Linked DNA regions of Homo sapiens: region 1 is linked to region 2. Evidence: promoter capture Hi-C in human tissues and cell types (Jung and others, 2019). All regions are on one chromosome and are shown on one strand. Each heading gives the region's core, a stretch centred on a gene start or on the middle of the fragment in contact. The rest is flanking DNA. Distances are from core to core; before and after follow the strand shown. Region 1 has its middle 54 kb from the start of TNKS2-DT. Region 2 holds the start of FGFBP3 (fibroblast growth factor binding protein 3).

Evidence for each region. The method cuts DNA at HindIII sites, captures the fragments that hold promoters and counts their contacts. A contact is called where the count stands out against the background at its distance.
Region 1: a fragment that was not itself captured here is called in contact with the fragment with the promoter of FGFBP3 in region 2 in 1 of the 25 tissues and cell types used here (liver).

The regions. Positions count from the first base shown.
Region 1 is chr10:91,741,887-91,746,442 of GRCh38, reverse strand. No RefSeq gene overlaps it. Among named protein-coding and RNA genes, the nearest start is that of TNKS2-DT, 54 kb to the left of the region's middle. The HindIII fragment of the contact is 3,672 bases long and covers 1,358-4,556 here.
Region 2 is chr10:91,907,448-91,912,158 of GRCh38, reverse strand. It overlaps FGFBP3 (fibroblast growth factor binding protein 3), which reads left to right and starts at 2,673. Exons shown (of 2, transcript NM_152429.5): 1 at 2,673-2,761; 2 at 3,112-4,711. The coding sequence starts at 3,190. The coding sequence ends at 3,966. It overlaps FGFBP3-AS1 (FGFBP3 antisense RNA 1), which reads right to left and starts at 4,030. Exons shown (of 2, transcript NR_199602.1): 1 at 3,910-4,030; 2 at 2,811-3,262. RefSeq lists an enhancer at 3,033-3,327 and a silencer at 3,231-3,800. The HindIII fragment of the contact is 15,807 bases long and covers 1-4,711 here.

The DNA.
Region 1 (4,556 bases), core at 1,944-4,443, 170 kb after region 2:
TGTGTTTGGTTTTCTCTGACCTTCCTGTATCCGGATATTTTTTTTCTTTTTAAGTTTTGGGAAGTTTTCTATTTCTTGAATAAGCTTTTTACCCCTTGCTCTTGCTCAACTCCCTCTTGAACACCAATACTTCTTAGATTTGGTCTTTTGAGGTAATTTTCTCTATCTTGTAAGTGGCCTTCTTTCCCTTTTATTCTTTTTTTCTCCTTTGACTATGTATTTTCAAATAGCTGGTCTCTGAGCTTACTGATTCTTTTCTCTGCTTGATCCATTCTGGGGTTGAGAATCTCTAATGGATTTTTCAATTCAGCAAATGTATGTCTCAGTTCCAAGATTTCTGTTTGATTTTTAAAATTATTTCAATCTCTTTGTTAAATTTCTCTGATAAATTTCTGAATTGATTTCTGTGTTATTTTAGACTTGGCCAAGTCTCCTTAAAACTGTCATTTTGAATTCCTGGTCAGAGAGTTCACAGATTGCTGTCTTGCTAGGGGCAGTCACTAGTTCCTTTCTTTGTTCATTTGCAGAGATCATGGTTCCCTATTTCTTGTGGGTGTACGTCCATGTTTTTGCATCAAAGGATTAATTATTTATTCCAATCTTCTCTGTTTGACTTGTTTTGGTTTTTATTGGGTACACCTGCTTAGAGATTCTTTTTCTTTTTCTTTTCTTCTTCTTTCTTCTTCCTTCTCCTTCTTCCTTCTCCTTCTCTTTCTTTTTCTCTTCGAGGCAGGGCCTTGCTCTATCACCCAGGCTAGGGTGCAGTGGTGATCATAGTTCACTGCAGACTTGAACTTCTAGGCTCAAGCAATGCTCCTGTCTCATTCCCCCGAGTAACTGAGACTTACAGGCATACACCACCATGCCTGAGTAATTTTTAGACATTTTTCCTAGAGTTGGGTTTCTGCTCAGGCTCGTCTCACACTCAGGTTCAAGCGATAATCCTGCCTCAGCCTCTCAAAGCGCTAGGATTACAGGCATGAGCCGCTGCATCTGGCTGAGTAGAGATTCTTTACCACTAGGTCACTGCCGCCTTTGCAGCTCTAGGTGGCACCTTAAGCCCAGGTTCACCTCAGCTCTAGTAAATGATGGGAACAATGACGGTCCAGAATCGGGGAGGTATCAGAGAGGGATATCCCGGCAGTGTAGGAATGCCGGCCAGGGGTTTGTGCCCTGGGGACCTGTGGAACGTACCTCCTACGGCATGGTGCTGTTGAATGGCCACTCTAATTTGGCGCCTCCTTCAGCTAAATTACAGAGCATAGTTTTCAGGGCCGGGCATAGCATTCCCATCTCCACCTTTTACTGTCTGTCCTCAGGGATATTTCTTCCTTCAGGCAATTGCAATGCTTCCTGTGCGTTAAGGCAGGGACGGGCCTCCTGCCAGGGAAACCGAGTTGATGGGGAAGCTGGTTGTCCACTTGAGCTCACTTTTTGCAGTGTAGAAACCATGAGTTGGCAGGAAATTTTCCTTTCTTTCTTTTCTTTTCCTTTTTTTTTTTTTTTTTTTTGACAGTGTCTGGCCCTGTTGCGCAGGCTTCAGTGCAGTGGCGCGATCTCGGCTCCCTGCAGCCTCCGCCTCCCGGGTTCTAGCAATTCTCCTCCTTCAGCCTCCTGCGTAGCTGGGATTACAGGCGTGCACCACCACACACAGCTTAATTTTTATATTTTTAGTAGAGATGAGGTTTCACCATGTTGGCCAGACTGGTCTGGAACTCCTGGCCTCAAGCGATCCGCCTGCCTAGGCCTCCCAACATGTTGGGATTACAGACGTGAGCCCGTGCACCCTGGAGAAAATTTTTATTTACTTATTTATTAATTATTATTTTTTATTATTATACTTTAAGTTCTAGGGTACATGTGCACAACATGCAGGCTTGTTACATATGTATACATGTGCCATGTTGGTGTGCTGCACCCATTAACTCGTCATTTACATTAGATGTTCCTCCTAATGCTATCCCTATTCTGAAACAGGAAAAATTTTCTATGCGCTGGATGTCAGACAAAATGGAGGGATGGGCTTTGTGGCTGTGGAAGTCTGATTTCCTCACCATCTGCTCAGAGTTGTTTCACTTCTCTGTGGCCTTGGGAACTGTCTCGTCTTTCCATCTGAGTTCTGGGATATTGCTGATGATAATCTCGGTGCTGTACATTTGTTTTTTGTTTTCTGCCGTGGGAAGTGAAGCCACCTTGCTTCTACATCACCATTTTTGAACCGAAAGCCTTTTTCCTCTCCAGGATAGTTATTTTTAATAGCACATAATTTTTCTTATGTTCCGTTATCTTTATAAGATCATGAATTGTTCTAGAATTTTAGGAATGAGTTAAAAGATCTTTAACTAAAGAATGGATTTTCTTTTCACTATCAGCAAACTTTATACAGCAAAAATAAAAATCATGTTAGTATTTTTTAGGGGATAACTTTGGCTTTCCAAAAGTTAACTCTTGAAACTTTTATTCTAAACTAAAAAATTTTGGTTTGTTAATTTTTTGCACTAGAGATGGCTTTTGATGTAGTAGTTTTATCTTAAAAAAAAAAAACCAACAAACAAATCCAAAAAACAGCTTTATTAAAACAGGTAGGTGGAACTTTTTCTAAACACTATTTAACTATGATGCAGCCAAGCTTTTTAAAAGTAATATTTAAAATCTTCGTGATTCTGTTATTAAAGCAAAACAAAACAAAAATGAAGATTGTATCTCTAAGCTCATTGCTCTAACTGGTTTGATTCTCTATCTAGAATCTCTGTTCATGGCTGAGTCAGCAATCTCATAACAAGGCCCTTTGTGTATACACCTTTCCTCATAGCTTTGGCTGCCTGTGTGGGAACTCACATAAGAATGTTCATTTCAGCATTCTTTATGGTGGTAGATGGATGAATGCCCTCCTGAGTGCCCATCACTAGAAAAGTGGCTAGGTATAATTTGGAGATTGTATACTATGAGAATAAGGGAAAAAATGAGAAGCAGCTAAATAGATACACATCTGACAATATAGATGAACTTCAAAGCATAGTGCAGAGGGGAGAAAAGATAAATAGAACGATATATAGCACAATGCTATTTAAGTAAATTACAACTATCTTTACCTTTATGCAAAACCATGTGTTTTGCAAGAATACTTACAAGCAAAAAGATATGAATTTAACTCATTGGCATTTGATTTTGGACATATCTGACCTATAAAATCTCACTTTTGAATTTGCCTTTGAAAAAGAGCTGTGAGGGACTAATTTATAACAGATTTTCTATTTTTTTCCCAAACCACAATAAGAAACAAAGAACACCAAGCCCCAAACCAAATAAGAAGTAGAATAAGAAGTTAAATGAGATACATTACACAATACTATTTATATCAATTAAAATTATATGCATACAAAACAGTGTATTTTTCAAGAACATCTATCAACACAAATCAATGTTCAACTCATTGCTGTTGAGGAATGGAAGGAATACTCACATCCCTGTTGGCACGTAATATTAAGCATGGAAATTTAGCGATGGGGAGTGTGGGAAAGGGGTTTGAAGGAAATTCACTGGAATCTAGGCACTGAATTAGATATTTCATATATATTCTATCATTTGATCCTCACAACAGCCCTGTAAGAAGAATTATCTCTGCTTTACAAATAAGAAAACTGAGACCCAGAAAAGCTAATTGTGTTCCTAATGTCACATAGCTCTTTAGTGGCAGAATTGGGACTTAAAATCTTGAGGCATTCTTAGGGAACAGATTAAAAAAGTCTTGGTTATGCTTGAATCTGTGTGACCTAGTTCTCACACAAGACAACCAAGGCTTAAGTAATACTGATGGTGGAAATTATTTATTGTTTTTGTAGCTTGGTATTTTGTATTATATTCTGAGATCGTATGGAAAAATGAAACCTAGAATCTAAAAATAACTTGTGCTTAGAAGCATTACTTTTTTTTCAGTTCTTCCAGCTTTGTGGTACTTTTCCAGGGTCTTTTAAGACATATTTGTTACTCTTTAACTGTGGTAAAAATAGAAAAACTAGTGGTCTGATTTGTACATAACATGCTGCAATCAAACTGAGGTCTTACTCTCCAGTTAGTTACTCATTAAGTAGAGCATATGATAATCAGAAATTTGACTTTGGAATTGATTAAAGTTGAAGCTGGAGCTCTGGATTGCCTATTAAATTCATACCATTGATTCCAGGAGAAGAGAGTTTATAGTAGTTCATTTTTATTGTTTATTATAATGTGATATTGGCATAATGACAGCATGCAAACTTCCAAAATGAGTTTCCTAAGAAAAATGTTTACATTTCTTCTTAAAAGCACTTTATTTTTTCCAGTGTTGTCACTTGCCTTTTTAAAAGCCATTTATAACGAACATTAAACACATCTATATTTAGATTTATAAAGAAATAACCTGTTGAGTCAAATCCTATTCATATTCAGTTTTTATATGCTAAACTTAAAATCTCAATTATAAATTACTAACAATTCAGTTTAATGTTTTTTTTAAAAAAATTCTATTGTTCAGGTAGAGGGCAGGAAAAATGAGGCCAGCCTACAGAAAAGGGAAA
Region 2 (4,711 bases), core at 1,424-3,923:
GTAATAGAAAATGCTATATGCAAGAGGACATTAGGAAATATAATAAGAATTCCTGATATCTTGAGGAAGTATTTAAGTAAAATATTTACTTGTGTAAAAAAATTACAGTCAGAGGTATAAACTTCTGCAATTAAAAAAAATCACATTTATTAATGAGAACATTTTTAAAAGATGATGGAATATTCTGAAGTTTTAAAACAGCTTTGCTAAGGGTCATTTCTGTGTGTCACTTTATTTCTTTTTATATAGCTATAGTATATTTAAACAATAATGCTGTCTTTTATAAGGGTTTGTCTATTTACCTATTCTTTACTCAGACATTGATGTAGACCTTGTCAGATTATTCTGAGTATTGTTAACAGTGCCTTTTTGATGGAATTCACACTTTTTGGCTGTCAACTTGTGCCATATACACACAAAATTTTGTGGAAGGCAGTTTTAATTTTTTGAAGAACATCTGTCAAAATTTAAGAAAACAAATGTATAAAATTCCATTTTTTCCAGTGTTTAGCATTTCTAGTAAGCAGTGAGGTTTTTTGTTTGACATACAGTGATGATGGCATTATTGACAAGCTATACATGAGACTGCAGATTATACTGAATCATGTTAAATGTACAGAAATAAAATATTAGATTTATATCAAACTTTCGCATTTGAACCAGTGGGGAAAACCCCACAGAAATCAGTAAGTTAACATTTCAATGTCTTTCTTATTTGACTAAGTGGAAAGAGAGTCTTTAAAATGTATAACCTGCCATTATGTAATTTGGTTTCATTTTATTCTACCTGTTGTGTGAGTTTAGTATATTTAATTTACTTTGTGTTACTCTACATACTGTTTATTTTTGTTACAGTTTTTAATTGAAGATGGACTCTGAAAGTGGTATAGGACCAGTGTCTTATTAATATCATTAATATATTAAGAGGAGCCACACAAAACCCATGACAAAATGAATGGAAATATTCTTTCTAAAAATTTAGAAAATTTTATACTTTTGCATTTATTATGTAAAATTATTTGTTTTACAATATCAAAATTTTTCGTTTAAAGAAAAAAATGCCATGAAACATTTGAACTGATGAGCCACAGAACTTCAGTTGAAATTTTTTTCACTTTTTAGCATGCTAAATATACATCTCAGTTTAAATATTCTGTTTAATGGCCATTTATAAATTCAAGCACTACCACTGGTCAGTTTTGTGTGATAGAATAAAAATATGTTACCTGCAGTGTAAGTATAGCACACTGTCAAATTCTTTTCCTTAAGGTGCACAGTAAATGTACAGATAGTTATAGGCCACTGTTTTTGCAATGTAGTACATTTCTAATCTATTATTCCTAACCTATTATAACTGTTTGCAGAGAGAAAATAATTGAATTTTTCTAATAATCTGTAAAATTATGCTAACTTCTACAAGTAGGCTTCTAAATAAAAATTTTAAAAAGAGCAAAAAAAAAAAAAAAGAAAGAAAAAACAGCTTTGCTTGGTCAGCACTTTGAGAGGCTGAGGCAGGTGGCTCATCTCAGGTCAGGAGTTCGATACCAGACTGGGCAACATGGTGAAACCCCTTCTCCACTAAAAATTAGCTGGGTGTTGTGGCAGGCACCTGTAATTCCAGCTACTGGGGAGGCTGAGGCAGGTGAATCGCTTGAACCGGGAAGGCAGAGGTTGCAGTGAGCCGAGATAGCACCACTGCGCTCCAGCCTGGGTGACAGAGTGAGCTCCCGTCTCAAAACAAACAAACAAACAAACAAACAAACAAACCCCCGCACACACACACAATCCCCCCCTCCAGAAAAAGCAGCTTTGCTTAAATGTAACATTTTCAAGATTCAAGAACACATTCATTCTCTCTCTCTTTTTTTTTTTTTTTGAGAGGCAGTCTCGCCCTGTCCCGGGTTCAAGTGATTCTCCTGCCTCAGCCTCCTGAGTAGCTGGGATTACAGGCATCTGCCACCACGCCTGGCTAATTTTTGTATTTTTAGTAGAGACGGGATTTCACCAGGCCAGGCTGGTCTCACATTCTTAACTATTATACCATTTCAATTGGTAATCTTACCGTTCAACTACTATAATACAAATAATTTTTTTAAACTTCTAATTTTTGGAGGACCCTTATAACTGATTTCTAATACCTAAAAATAATAAAAAGCCCAAATGTCCACTCCTGGGTGAACTGCTGGGCACTATTGTATGTTAATAAACTAGGATATTATATTTTTATTAGTAGTAACAATTATTAAGATTGAGAGTCTTAAGAAAGGCTATTGGAAATAATAGGTAAAAATGTAGAACTCAGAATATGAGAAATAGAATGTAAATGATATAATTGTGTAAAAAATGCCTAGTTTAGAATACTGAAGTTTGTTTTGTTTCATTTTATTTAACTTTTAAAACTTAGATCTTTTGTTTAATTTTTATTTTTTGGATGGTTAAGTACATGAAAGAAGAAAAACTTGGTTAATTTTGCCTGATTATTTTAAACATTGGAAGCAAAATACAAGATTTGTATTTCATACTACAGGACCGCTTCCATCATCCATCTGGAGAGACAGAGAGAGAGAGGGAGAGAGAGAGAGAAGCGCGGCGGTGATAAGTCTCCCAGTGTGAGAGAAATCGGGGAGGGGCGAAGAAGGGTAGGCCTCTTCTGTTCCATTGATACCACGTTCATTCACAGGGAGCCGGCTAAAACAGACTACTCCCCCGTGCAGTCGTTCCCTCTACCCTAATAAGGCTTTGGCGCCTCTCCCAGAACTCGGTAAGTTCAAAGTGTAGTAAAGTGCATGTTTCCAAGGAATCATCTGAAATGATTTTGTAGATAGTTTATTGCAGGTTGGAGAAGGGAGAAAATGAAGGAAGGGGTAGAGGGGGCAATTATCACGCATCGTTTTGCTATCGTATTTGCAAGGGGAAGAAAATCTCAATGCATACATGGTTCGAAAGTGATTATTTAGACAGTAAGCAGTTTCCCCAGGAAAGCTCCTCAGAGGGTCTCCTCGCAGGCTGCAGATTCTAGAAAGTCTGCGGAAGAGTAGTTCGCAGGTGCATGTGTCTGGGCGAAGCGCTGCGTGTGGCTCAGTTGGTGGCAGTCTCTGCCTCTGTCCGCAGGTCCTGGGGAATGCTCTTTGCCTGGTCCAGCCCCGACAAACGTGGTCTGAGAACAGCGGAGCGCGGAAACCGCGGAGCATGACTCCTCCGAAGCTGCGAGCGTCGCTGTCGCCGTCGCTGCTGCTGCTGCTGAGTGGTTGCCTCCTCGCGGCTGCTCGGAGGGAGAAAGGGGCGGCTAGCAACGTGGCGGAGCCGGTCCCCGGGCCCACTGGCGGCTCCTCGGGTCGCTTCCTCAGCCCCGAGCAGCACGCGTGCAGCTGGCAGCTCCTGCTGCCCGCCCCGGAGGCCGCAGCGGGCAGCGAGCTGGCGCTGCGCTGCCAGAGCCCGGACGGGGCGCGCCACCAGTGCGCCTACCGCGGGCATCCGGAGCGCTGCGCAGCCTACGCCGCTCGCCGCGCGCACTTCTGGAAGCAGGTGCTGGGAGGGCTGCGCAAGAAGCGGAGGCCCTGTCACGACCCCGCGCCGCTCCAGGCCCGCTTGTGCGCGGGCAAGAAGGGCCACGGCGCCGAGCTGCGGCTAGTGCCCCGCGCGTCCCCGCCCGCACGCCCCACCGTCGCGGGATTCGCGGGGGAGTCCAAGCCCCGGGCCCGGAACCGGGGGCGGACCCGGGAGCGTGCGTCCGGCCCAGCCGCTGGGACCCCGCCTCCCCAAAGCGCACCGCCCAAAGAAAACCCCTCAGAGAGGAAGACCAACGAGGGCAAGAGGAAGGCGGCCTTGGTCCCCAACGAGGAGCGACCCATGGGGACCGGGCCCGACCCCGACGGGCTGGACGGGAACGCGGAGCTCACGGAGACCTACTGCGCTGAGAAGTGGCACTCCCTCTGCAACTTCTTTGTCAATTTCTGGAACGGCTGAGACTGCCTGCCGGCTTAGGGAGGGTTGATGGGGGAGGCGTGGGGAAGGGAAAGCTAAGGGCGTCTTAGACCGGGGGGTACTGTGATAGAGATTGGGGAGAAGTCCAGGTTCTCGAATGGGGGTGGGGGCAAGGGTAAGGGTGAGATGCTTGGGATGAGAGTGTAAGGGGTATGGAGAATCTCTGGGATAGCAGAGAAGTTAAAAATTTTGAAAAGTCTCAGTCCTGATTAAGAGCAGGAAAAATAATGGAAACAGAAATAGGCGTACTTTAAATGTGCAAAAACTGGAGACTGGGGAGAGAAATCGATGCAGAGGGAGGCTGAGAATAAGGGGGAGATAGAGTGACTAAAGTGATGTGAGTCCCATGTGGGGAGGGGGATGCAATGTTTATTGTTTAACATTTCTATTAAATGCAGCCATGAGCAATTGCCAACCTGAGCCAGGTTGAATCAATGTCTTCTCACTTAATCAGCTAACAAGACTGCAGACTTTTTTTCCGTTTCTGAATTGGTATAAACTTGGATGCGGCGTGGTGGGTGTCATAGATAACCTCTATAGGGACAGAAGCCTCACAGGTCAAAACTGGCTCCAAGGAAAGTTTTGCAGAATGATTTCCTTTCCATTCTTTTAGAAGAGCTACCTTTTTTTTTTTTTTTCCCTGACAGGGTCTGGCTTGCCCAGGCTGGAGTGCGGTGGCTAGTCACAGGTGTAATAATAGGCACTGCAGTCTCCAACTCCTGGCCTC